Regions from separate parts of the Homo sapiens genome. Here all the other regions are linked to region 1. The links are contacts of gene promoters, found by promoter capture Hi-C in blood cells and fetal thymus (Javierre and others, 2016). All regions are on one chromosome and are shown on one strand. The core of a region is centred on a gene start or on the middle of the fragment in contact, and the rest is flanking DNA. Distances in the headings are between cores, read along the strand shown. Region 1 has its middle 7.4 kb from the start of MIR3198-2. Region 2 holds the start of HOXC6 (homeobox C6). Region 3 holds the start of ITGA5 (integrin subunit alpha 5).

Evidence for each region. The method cuts DNA at HindIII sites, captures the fragments that hold promoters and counts their contacts. A CHiCAGO score of 5 or more calls a contact.
Region 2: a contact is called between the fragment with the promoter of HOXC6 here and a fragment that was not itself captured in region 1, in 3 of 17 cell types (naive CD8 T cells, naive B cells and naive CD4 T cells). The highest score is 7.0, in naive CD8 T cells.
Region 3: a contact is called between the fragment with the promoter of ITGA5 here and a fragment that was not itself captured in region 1, in 1 of 17 cell types (monocytes). The highest score is 5.6, in monocytes.

The regions. Positions count from the first base shown.
Region 1 is chr12:54,222,241-54,225,892 of GRCh38, reverse strand. No RefSeq gene overlaps it. Among named protein-coding and RNA genes, the nearest start is that of MIR3198-2, 7.4 kb to the left of the region's middle. The HindIII fragment of the contact is 5,474 bases long and covers 1-3,652 here.
Region 2 is chr12:54,026,031-54,029,967 of GRCh38, reverse strand. It overlaps HOXC6 (homeobox C6), which reads right to left and starts at 1,528. Exons shown (of 2, transcript NM_004503.4): 1 at 1,047-1,528; 2 at 1-313. The coding sequence starts at 1,446. The coding sequence ends at 6. It also overlaps a transcript of HOXC4 not described here and a transcript of HOXC5 not described here. The HindIII fragment of the contact is 15,214 bases long and covers 1-3,937 here.
Region 3 is chr12:54,418,007-54,421,885 of GRCh38, reverse strand. ITGA5 (integrin subunit alpha 5) reads left to right here and starts at 2,620. Exons shown (of 30, transcript NM_002205.5): 1 at 2,620-2,905. The coding sequence starts at 2,688. All of the region lies in intron 2 of GPR84-AS1 (GPR84, ZNF385A, ITGA5 and GTSF1 antisense RNA 1), which reads right to left. The HindIII fragment of the contact is 3,058 bases long and covers 2,017-3,879 here.

The DNA.
Region 1 (3,652 bases), core at 1,088-3,587:
TTCACTCAAACAGATGGCTGGAACTTCACTTCTGCAGAGCTCTGGGCAATGAATCAACTTAGCATCCACTCTCATGTGTTCTGAGTTAGAATAATCTTTGCTCTGGACTGTATCACCTTCCTGAAAATCTGAGAAATACTTGGATTATTTCTGCATCCTGAATGACTTCAATTTTTACCCTAGTATGGGGAGTTGGAGGGCCTGGAATCCCAATGCTTTCTTAATTCCCAAGCCTGTTTTAGGTGGTCCCAGGAAGGGAATGAGAAGGGGGTGTGTATAAAAGAGGGAAGTTGAGGGGATGGCAGTGCAGGTAGCCGCAGGTAAGGATTCCCCAATCCTCATTAGAGATCTCAATTGAATAACTGTTGCTATCTTCAAAGAAGAGATGGGACAGACAGCCCCCTTTACTCCACAAGGAAATGGCAGGTCTGTGTGTATATAAGTTGGAAGGCTATATTCATTTGAATATAACTCTCTGAATACATTTTTGTCTTCATTTGAATATATTAAATTTCACTGAGTCCAAGTTGAGTCACTTTAATGGAGGGGAAGCAATGGCCTAAATAATTCAAGGCGGTAGATAATCCCCAAATCATTTATGAATGTGATTGAAAGGCACTTGGAAGGGGCTTTGGAAGGTGCTTTGTGGACTTCTCTGGGCCAAAAGGAAGAAATCATTAATGGAGGTAAATGAAAAGCTACTCTTAGACCTGTACCAGAATAGCTGTACAGACCCCATGCTATTGGAAGAGCAACAAGCAGGTTGGAATTCTGAGGGCACAAAGAGAGTCGCAGTTATGTATGGATTGAGAGAAGCTAGGAAACAATAAGCTCACAACTGGCATCACTCCCGAATTAACCAATATACCACCTCGGAACAGCCCAGGCACTGGGCAAAATCCTTAGGTAAGAATTTAAGTCTGGCTTTGTTATTCACAAGGTTGAGTAATATTGGCTAAATTAATTCCCCTCTCTGGGTATCAGTTTCCTAAGGGGACTCAGCTCAAATATGGGATAATTATTTCATTTTTCACAAAGTATTTTATCTTTTTATTGTAATCATAGCAAAAAATTGACAAAAGTAGACATTGGGAAAACTATAATCCTATGATGTTAATATGACATATTTTTACATTTGTGTGCTTGACCAGATTTTTGTCCATATGAAACAAAATCCCGTTTTTACATAGTGTGTGTACCATTTTGTATTATTATTTTCTGAGATAGGGTCTCACTCTGTCTCTCAGGCTGGAGTGCAGTGGCATGATCACAGCTCACTGCCGCCTCGACCTCCCAGACTCAAGCGATCTTTCCACATCCTGGGCTAAGCCTCCCTCCCAAGTAGCTGGGACTACAGATGCGTGCCACCATGCCCTGCTTTTTTTTTTTTTTTTTCCTAAGAGATGGGGCCTCCCTGGCTGGGACGCCTGTAATCCCAGCACTTTGGGAGGCCAAGGCGGGCAGATCACAAGGTCAGGAGATCGAGACCATCCTGGCTAACACGGTGAAACCCCACTCTACTAAAAATATAAAAAACTAGTTGGGCGTGGTGGTGGGCGCCTATAGTCCCAGCTACTTGGGAGGCTGAGGCAGGAGAATGGCATGAACCTGGAAGGCAGAGCTTGCAGTGAGCCAAGATCGCGCCACTGCACTCCAGCCTGGGGGACAGAGCGAGACTCCGTCTCAAAAAAAAAAAAAAAAAAAAAAAAAAAGAGATGGGGCCTCCCTATGTTGCCCAGGCTGGCCTGGAACTCCTGTGCTCAAGAGATCCTCCTGCCTGGACCAGTGTTGGGATTACAGACATGAGCCACTGTGCCCGTCCCTATTTTGCACTTTTTTTCACTTAACATAAAAAACAGTTCTGGGCTGGGGGTGGTGGCTCACGCCTATAATAATCCCAACACTTTGGGAGGCCGAGGCATGAGGATCATTTGAGCCCAGGAGTTCGAGACCACCTTGGGCATCAAGGTGGTACGTACCCCCATCTCTACAAATAACACAAAAATTAGCTGATTGTAGTGGTGCATGCCTATAGTCCCAGCTACTCAGAGAGCTGAGGTGGGAGGATCGCTTGAACCGGGGAGGTTGGGGCTGCAGTAAGCGTTGTTTATACCAGTGCACTCCAGCTTGGGCAACAGAGTAAGATCTTGTCTCTTAAAAAAAAAAAAAAGAAGTATCAATGTACTGTGTATGGATTCTACCAGTATCCGTGGTCTGGAGGGCCCCCTGGCCACTTCGTGTTAGTCTCATACCTTTGAAACAGTAGTGGTTCCAGTGTTCCATTCTCAGTTGTTTTTTTTTTTTTTTTGAGATGGAGTCTCGCTCTGTCGCCCAGGCTGGAGTGCAGTGGCGCGATCTTGGCTCACTGCAAGCTCCGCCTCCCGGGTTCAAGCCATTCTCCTGCCTCAGCCTCCTGAGTAGCTGAGACTACAGGCACCCGCCACCACGCCTGGCTAATTTTTTGTATTTTTAGTAGAGACAGGGTTTCACCGTGTTAGCCAGGATGGTCTCGATCTCATGATCTCGTGATCCCCCCCGCCTCGGCCTCCCAAAGTGCTGGGATTACAGGTGTGAGCCACCATGCCCGGCCTCAGCTGTTGTTCTTACCCCAGTTTGTTCCCATCTTCTAAAATAGCTTCTATACTTTCATTATTTCAACCATTACTTATGGACTTATGACCCCCCACACCGATATCTCTGGGCCTTGACTGTATCACTGTTCTCTCTGTATCCACTTGCCCTTTGCTACCTCCTCCTGAGAATCCTGGAAACTCCTCAAATGCAGACCCTTCAAAGTCTGCCCCAGACCTGCCTTTACTGCATTTTCCTCCACTTCTATTCTCCTTATCCCTCCCAGAATTTCACAGAACTATGCTCCAAGCCCCAACAAGCTGGTCTCTTGGATTTCAATGCCTCTGCTCCCACAATCCACTCTGCATATTTTGGTCTCTTCCTCCCTGATGCCTTCATGGGTTCCTCCAAGTAAAATTACTCATTCTCTCTTTGGTGCTTTCACAACCTCTTATGCCTCATCTGTATTATAAAATAAACTGCGAATTCCTGTGGACAGAGTCCATTTCTACTTCATCTGTGGATCTTCAATTCCTGGCTGAGTGTGTAGCATATAGCAGATGCTTATTAAATAATTGTGGGATGAATCAGTGGTCAAGTCATGGTTCCCACTTGCTTCATTTTTCACCAATGCTGTCATTGTCACCACTGATCAGTGCCCTTACTGTTATCATCATTAACTTGATCATGATCACACTTCCTTCATGGTCACTATTATTAACTCCATTGACCACATCATCTCATCATTTACAGCAACAAAAAAAAACCTTCATTAAACATCTGTTCCCAGAGGATAGTATGCAAAGAGCTTTTAATGGAGTTACATGTCATCCCTGCCTTCCAGAGCTCATAGTCTAAAACATAGTTTGTGCTGGGACATGGTCATTATAGACTTTCTGAAGGATGAACAGTGAACAAGAAAGTGAAAATTATTTAAAGAATGACATGAGGCCAGGTATGGTGGCTCATCCCTATAGTATCAGCACTTTGCGAGGCTGGGGAAGATTGCTGAGGCCAGGAGTTTGAGACCAGCCTGGGCAACTAGCAAGACATCTTTACAAAAAATTAAAAAATTTGCTGG
Region 2 (3,937 bases), core at 279-2,778, 200 kb after region 1:
CCTGGTCACTCTTTCTGCTTCTCCTCTTCTGTCTCTTCCCGCTTTTCCTCTTTTCCGCCCAGGCTGTCGGCGGTGGCCCCTCCGCCGCCCCCCGAGAGAGTGGATGTGAGATTAGATTCTTTTTTCCACTTCATCCGGCGGTTCTGGAACCAGATTTTGATCTGTCGCTCGGTCAGGCAAAGCGCGTTGGCGATCTCGATGCGCCGGCGCCGCGTTAGGTAGCGATTGAAGTGAAATTCCTTCTCCAGTTCCAGGGTCTGGTACCGCGAGTAGATCTGGCGGCCGCGCCTCCGGTCCGCTCCGTAGCCGACCCCTAAAGATCCGGGCACAAAACACACTAAAAGCAATCAGCAAAGCGTCCTCTGCAGACTGTTTCGCCTAGCAAAGTCCTGACCCTCCCAACCTGGCCAGCAGCTCACAGCCTCCTTAGGGCTCTAGCCTTCTCCCTTTTGCCTTGCCCCACCCCCACTGGGGGTACAGCGAGGACCCCAACTTCAGACCTCCTATAAGGTGGGACCTGTGTGTCCCAAAGAAAGGTGTGTGGTGGGGGGGGGGGCGGGGGGGCGGGGCAAAAGGCAAACAGAAAGCTGCAAGTCTAAAAGCAGATTTTTGAAAAATCCCAGATAATGGGGATGAGGGCCCCCTTTCTCAAGGACTGGGCTCCCCCATCTCCCCAAGCATCCTAGTTCCTTGGAAACTTCTCCCCACTTATCTGCCTCTCCTCTCCCCCTCCCTTCTCCTCAGACTGACTCCACTTTGGGGGGCTCCCCTATCTTCTGCTCCCTCCCCTCATCCCCTGCCCTGTTCCTGCCCCCTCAGCCCGCCTTGGGGCCCTCCAATCCGTCAGGGGCCAAGGGGGCCAGGCCCCTGCAAGCGAGCGAGAGGCGAGCTGAGGGGGCAGAAGAGGGGGCCCTGTCTCGGTGAGGAGACGAGCGTGATTGTTTTTATGGGGCCATAAAAAACTCTCTCCGCCCGTTCTTCTAGGGAAGCCGGTCATAAAGCCAGTTCAGTTTATTTAATTTATATCTCGGAGCTGTAAAACTCACCACTGTGCGAATTCATTCGCTGCATCCAGGGGTAAATCTGGATACTGGCTTTCTGGTCCTGGGGCGCAGTCCTGCCCTGCTCAGAACTAAAATCCTGAGCGATTGAGGTCTGTGTGTTATGTCCTAAGGTGTTTTGTCTGCAGTTTGAGAGCATGTCTTTCTCCTGGTAAAAGGAATTAGATCCATAGTCATACGGCCCCCGGCTGGAACTGAACACGACATTCTCCTGTGGCGAATAAAAGGGAGTCGAGTAGATCCGGTTCTGGGCAACGGCCGCTCCATAGGTCGAGAAATGCCTCACTGGATCATAGGCGGTGGAATTGAGGGCGACGTTGGGGAGGACGTCCTGGCCCCCGGCGAGGTGGCAGGATAAGGAAGGGTTAGTGAAGTAGGAATTCATCCCTTTGCCTTTACCTGGTCGGTCTATGATTTCTTTAATATTTATTTCTGTCTCCAGTTTGTACTCGGAACTAGATGGTTATAGGGACGGCTCCAATCCAGGACAGACAAAATGACAAAGTCAGCTGACCCCCTCCCAGCCAATCGCAAGCCAGATGTCAGGAAGGGGGAAAAAAATCGCTTCTGCTTCTGTTGATTCCCTAGTTGAGACTAAGTGTGTGCTTTGAAAGTAAGACTTGGATTTCTTTTAAAAAATATATATATATATATATATATGTAAGGGAACTGGTTTGGTGGTGAAGGAGGGGTGCATGTCCCTGAGCAGGGCCTTGGGACTCAGGGAAGGAGAGCTGTACTACCAGGAAATCTCTCAGCCCCAGCTAACTTTGCTGTGCTGTGGCCAGAGCCAGGGCTAGAGAAACCCCTGTATTTTCAATCTGGTTTCATGTTTTATATCTGCCCCCTTCTAAAATTACATCCTGATTTCTCCAAGGGAAGAACTCCCTCCCAGCACAGGAGGGGGGTCCCTAGAAATCCTGCAGGAAATCCTGTTTTGACACTCCATGGAGTGAGTCCCATCACTAAACTAGTATTTTTTTCACCAATAATTAAAAAAAAATCAAAAGTAGAAAGAAATTTCATAAAACCTGTTCCCCTGAGTAAGTAGAGTGTGGCTGAGAGTCTTGAATGTAGTAGGGATGTGGGGAACAACTAGGTCTAAAGGGGCAAGACTTCAGGGTACAGTGGCAGAGCTGGAGTGGGCAAATGGGCCACGCATCTGCTCTCCTTTGCCTCCTGGCTCCCTTCTGCCTCCTTCTCAGGACCCCTCTGTTGGGAAAACTCTTCCAGCATTTTTGCCTAAAAGGGAAAATGTATAAAAAATGCAATAGAAAAAGGAGAAAAAGAAGTAAAATGTAGGGAGGTGGCACCGGAGGGGGAAAGACAGAGAGAAAGAGAGAGAGAGGAAGAACGAAAACTCTGAGAATCTTTCTAGAGACATCAACTCCTGTTTATGTTGGTGAGAATTTATTATTTGGAGCCAGTGAGGGCCTGTGGGGTAATTCACATAGGATCCAGCCAGAAAGAGAAGGCTGGTGGGGCTCTGATGGACAGTTAGCTTCCTGCAGGCTCAAGCCCCTGCCTTGGTCAGAAGCCCCCCTGCCCCCTCCAGACTCAGGGCACCGCCAGTGGAGGCGCCCCTGGACCTGAGCTATGAGGCTTGGAGACTTCAGAAAGGGGTTCTAAGGAGCTCTCACCCAAGTGCCAGTCACCCGTGGTGGGGATGGGCCTCTCAGCAACCTCAACGCCCATTTTATTCCCCCATCTTGGGGCTAAAAAAAGGGAAGAGACGGTTACGAAAAGGCAGCTGAATCCGAGGCTTGTGAGGGAGCCGCAGTAGGCGAACTGAAACAGCGGAAAGTGTGCAGATGGGGGTTTTCTCCTGATTAGTCCAAACTTAATTTGATATCGTGATATAGGCTGAAAATGCCTTGAGTTGACAAAGAAGGGTGGTGGGGAGTGTGCGGGGAGCAGAGAAAGCTCATATCCCCCCCCCCCCACCATTTTTGGGTGGGTTGGGGGGGGGGAAAGCTGGCTATAACAAGAACCCGGATGTCGCCGGATTTTATGATCTTTTCCTTCTGTGTAACAAAGCGGAGTAATCAATGGGTAGCAATAAAGCCATAAACGGGACTATGCTGAGAAAAAACTCGTTTATTCATCTTCTGTAACGTTAAGGTTTCCCTGGAGTGTCGCTAGGGGGGAAAAATAAAGTTTCGAACCCAAAAGCAGACAGTGTGCAGGAGCTGGTGGAGACAACATGTTAGTTAATACATGAACCTCGTTAGGGGGTTGAAGAGTCTTCCTGCCAGACAATTTGTGTTGGTTTTAGAAAATACAGCCCCAATCCTCCAGAAAGGACAGAAATTTGTCGGTATTTGGAAGGGAAGGGGAAAGACTCCTATAATTATAAAGGTTCCTCCTTCTAGATCACACTTTCTTCTCCCCAAGGAAATGAAGGGGAAAGGGTAGAGGAGGATTTTTAAATTAAGAAAAAAAATTTTAGATGAGTTATCTCATTTTTGGGGTGACTTGGCAGGTACACAAACATAGACACCAATGTGAGTTGCTTTTTGCCCTAGAATCCAGCTGTCCTCGAATTCATGGCATGCCTGAGCAGAGGTTTCCAACAGCTGGCTGAGGCTTCAGGCCCCCTGGAGGGCAAGAGGTGGGGGAGAGACAACAAGGCAGGAGTACTCTGGGGACTGAGCTAGGGAACAAGTCAGTGCACCCCTGGACACAAGTAGCCTCTCTCAGAGTTCCCAGCCTCCTTTCTGCCCTAAGGGTAGTGGTGTAACAAGTAGAAGAGGCCGGAAGAGAGAGTAACTCTGTCCCCCCCTCCAATTTCAGAGAGAGATTGCTAGAGGGATAAATCATGTCAGTGATATTTCCTTCAAGATATTAAATTGTTGCAATGTACAACAAATTGAATG
Region 3 (3,879 bases), core at 1,371-3,870, 200 kb before region 1:
AGAAAGGCTGAGAGATATACAAGATAGAAAGAAAAAGCTGAGAGGAGATAGATCATTTAGAGGGGCAGTGGGCTTAGAGGAGAAGGCACTGGGTCTGGAGTCTAAACACTTAGGTTCTAGGCTCACCGCTAACTGGCTAGCCATATGACCCTGGACAAATCACTTCATCTCTCTACACCCATTTCCTCTTCTGAAGGAGAAGATTGGACTGATGGCTTCTATCCCCTCCTCACTGGCCTTTCTAGGTCAGCTTCCAGGCCTGGAGGTCTGTGCTGAAGTAGCTCTAATTAGGAGGGGACCCCAAGTTAAGGACGAACCCAGAGCAGAGGAAGAGAGGATCAGGCAAAGGCAGGCATGGTGAGAGGAAAGGCAGGAGGTGTTGGGGCCACTGGGAGAGGACTTATAAGGGCAGAAAGAGCCAAGAGAGGAGGGATATTGGGGAGAGTAGAAAGGCCAGCCAAAGAATGACTAAGGGGCTCCCGGTGTAAACAGGAGCAGGGAATGGACAGGGAGGGGGCCTGTTTGAGTTGGCCAAGGCTAGGGGTGGAGTGGGGAGGAGGACTGGGGCAGGACGCTATGTCCCCTGTCCCCCACCAAGGCTCCTGGGAGGAGCTGAGTCACACACCTCCTTCCCTGCACCCCTCCCCACCCCCACCCCTAATCTCCCAAATCCTGGGAAAATCTAAAGAGTTTGCCTAGACTGAGAAAGGAGAGTGTTTGGTTCACACACGTGTTTTGCTGGGCTAAAAAGCAATCAGGCCTCAGCCCTTCTCCTCCCAAAGGGGGTTCCCAGCCCATGGCTTGAGTAGCTCTCACCTAAAGGTTGCCTTTTTGGCAATGCTGGGCTTAAAGATCCTGACCCAGAGATTCCCTGGGTTCCTCACCTAAGAAAGGGTCAGGACTTGCAGATGTGAGAATGGGATACGGGCCAGCATTGCCCCACAGTCTGGCCAGCCAGCCTCTCCCTTGGGCTGCAGCTGGCTCTGGAGGGGGGCTTTTAAAAAAGCAGATGGGTGATTTGGGACAGGAAGTGGAGTAGCAGAGTGAGGGGGAGAGTCATGGCAGGAAAAAAACATTGACTCTGGGCACTCTTATTCTGAGCCTTTCAGCCCGAAGTGGGGCAGGGGACTGGAGAACAGAAGGGACAGGGTTGACAGGATATTATTGACAGGGTATTATTCTGGAAAGTGAGGAGTCCTGGAGGAAAGAGACTGAAAGGACTTGTAGTCCCCTCCCCCAGACTAAGATAAAGGCTAGAATCCTGAAAAGTGATCTCATCACACAGAGCCTGAGCTTGGGGAAGAGGTGGGCAGGGGGTCACTGCCTTCCCTTTCTAGAGTCCCTTCCTCTACTTCCACAGGGGAATCTGGGAAGAATGGGGTCCTGGCTTTCCGCTCCCATTGTTTTTTTGGTTTTTGGTTTTTGGATTTTTTTTTTTTTTTTTTTTTTGGATACAGTCTTGCTCTGTCACCCAGGCTAGAGTGCAGTGGTGCAATCGCGGCTCATTGCAGTCTCTGCCTCCTGGGTTCAAGTAATTATCCTGCCTCAGCTTCCCGAGTAGCTGGGATTACAGGTGCGGACCACCACATCTGGATAATTTTTGTATTTTTAGTGGAGATGGGTTTTGCCATGTTGGCCAGGCTGGTCTTGAACTCCTGGCCTCAGGTGATCTGCTCACCTCGGCATCCCAAAGTGCTGGGATTACAGGTGTGAGCCACCGTGCCTGGCCAGAGCTCCCAGCGTTTACAGCCATTAGGAGCTGAAGGTTGGGTCCCTTTGCAAGACTTTCCACCACCACCACCACCTCTCACAATTCTCCAGGTTTGTAGGAACCCGGCCAGTTTAATCAAGCAGGTACTGAGGGGCCAGCCACTCGCAGGCTTTTGGTCAACTGTCAGATCCAAGGAAGGGGCTCAGCAGAGGTTTACATACCCTAGGACCAAGAAGGGGGCAAACTGGAGCAGAATCCTCCTGATGAATGACCCCAAACTCCTGGGTTTTCAATACTAGCAAGCTTGGAGGAGGAAGCAGCGGAACTTGAGGAGCCCGTGTAGGTCCTCTAGCAAGCTGACTGCGAACGCTGTCTCTGTACCTCAACTGTTGTGTCCCAAATCCAGCTGGCCAGAACCCAGGCACCCGGCGGCCCCGGAAGGCAAGGGGGAATCCCAGTTGGCCGGACGCCAGAGGAGTCTCCTGTCTCTTTAGACCCCAAAGTCTCCTCCCTAAAGCACTGAGGGAGACCCCACACACATATACAGGCTTCCTCCGCCCACCAGAGGTGATTCCTTTCCTCATTAGGAAATTCTCCGCTCCCTTTTCCGACTCGTTTTCCGAGCGTTTACGTTGTACATCTGGAAAGGAATGGGGAGGAAGGAGGGGGAAGCAGAGAGGAGGGGGAAGAACCCAAACCCGCCCAGTCTAACCCAGTCCAGACAACCGGCTTCCAGCTGGGGCTGGGGAAAGGGGGTTGGAGGGGTGCGCCCCCCCCCCACGCCCCTTAGGGGTGGGGGACGCGGGCTCAGAGTTCCAGGGACCCAGGAATGCCCCCCCGCCAGCCCCCTCGGCAGGCGGGGGGAGGGCTCAGCCGGGAGTTTGGCAAACTCCTCCCCGCGTTGAGTCATTCGCCTCTGGGAGGTTTAGGAAGCGGCTCCGGGTCGGTGGCCCCAGGACAGGGAAGAGCGGGCGCTATGGGGAGCCGGACGCCAGAGTCCCCTCTCCACGCCGTGCAGCTGCGCTGGGGCCCCCGGCGCCGACCCCCGCTGCTGCCGCTGCTGTTGCTGCTGCTGCCGCCGCCACCCAGGGTCGGGGGCTTCAACTTAGACGCGGAGGCCCCAGCAGTACTCTCGGGGCCCCCGGGCTCCTTCTTCGGATTCTCAGTGGAGTTTTACCGGCCGGGAACAGACGGGTGAGTGAGGAGGGCTGGAGACGGGATGGGGGTGGGGGAGCCGCCTGGAGACTGGGGGCGCGGCTGGGGTCTGGAGGGGACCAGGGCTTAAGTTTGAGGGTGGAGTTTGTAAGGAATAGAGCTGCAGTTGGGGGCCCTGGCTAGAGTTGGGGGCCCGCGCTGGAGTAGGGAGGGCACCGTGGCGGGTGAGGAGGGGCCCTGGCGTTTGAGATCAGTGGGGAGACATGTGTCCGGTGGGGAGAGGACACGGAGCTGGAGAAGTCTGGGCAGGGGTCTCCGGGCCAAGGGAGAGGAGAGCGCGTGAATGGAGAGCTGAGGGTCTCTGGCTGAAGTCTGTGGGCTGCTGGGACCTGGGGCGGGTGGGGGCGCAGAGGGGGCGCAGAGGCCGGGAAGGGCTTTTGGGGGCTCCAGGAGACCTCGGGATCCGTAGGGGCCATTGTGCGGCGAGAGAACGGGTAGAAGCCGAATGAGCTACGTGTAGTAGGAGGAAAGTCAAAGACTGAGGGGGTCGGAAGGTTAAATGGGGGCCAGCCTCATCCTCCCCTCCCCCCTCAACTCAGACCGGGGAAAGACCCGAGAGAGGACGGCGGCTCCCTCTCCTTTCTCCTCTGTCTCCTACTCCTCCCTCCGCCCCCAATCTCTGTTCAGGCGAGGGGATCCGAGAACTGGGGGCGAGTGCGGGGACCCTGGCACTGGGGCCCTGGGGCTGGGGGCGAACTCAGCCAAGGGCGGGTGCTGGGATGTGTCGGGAGGGGTGTGTGCGCGCGTGAAGGGGGGTGGGCGGTTTCCCTCTTCCTCTGGCTCTTGGGAGGAAGAGAAAAGCTGGTTTCCTGTAGCTGGTCGGCTGGAGCTGTGCTGAGACCGGGACTTCTGGGGCTGGGGTCGGAAGCTGGGGAGACGGGGGCTCCGTGGGGCCAAGAACGTCAGAATGAAGGACTCAGGACCCTGGAAATCTCAAAGGAGGATCCTTATTC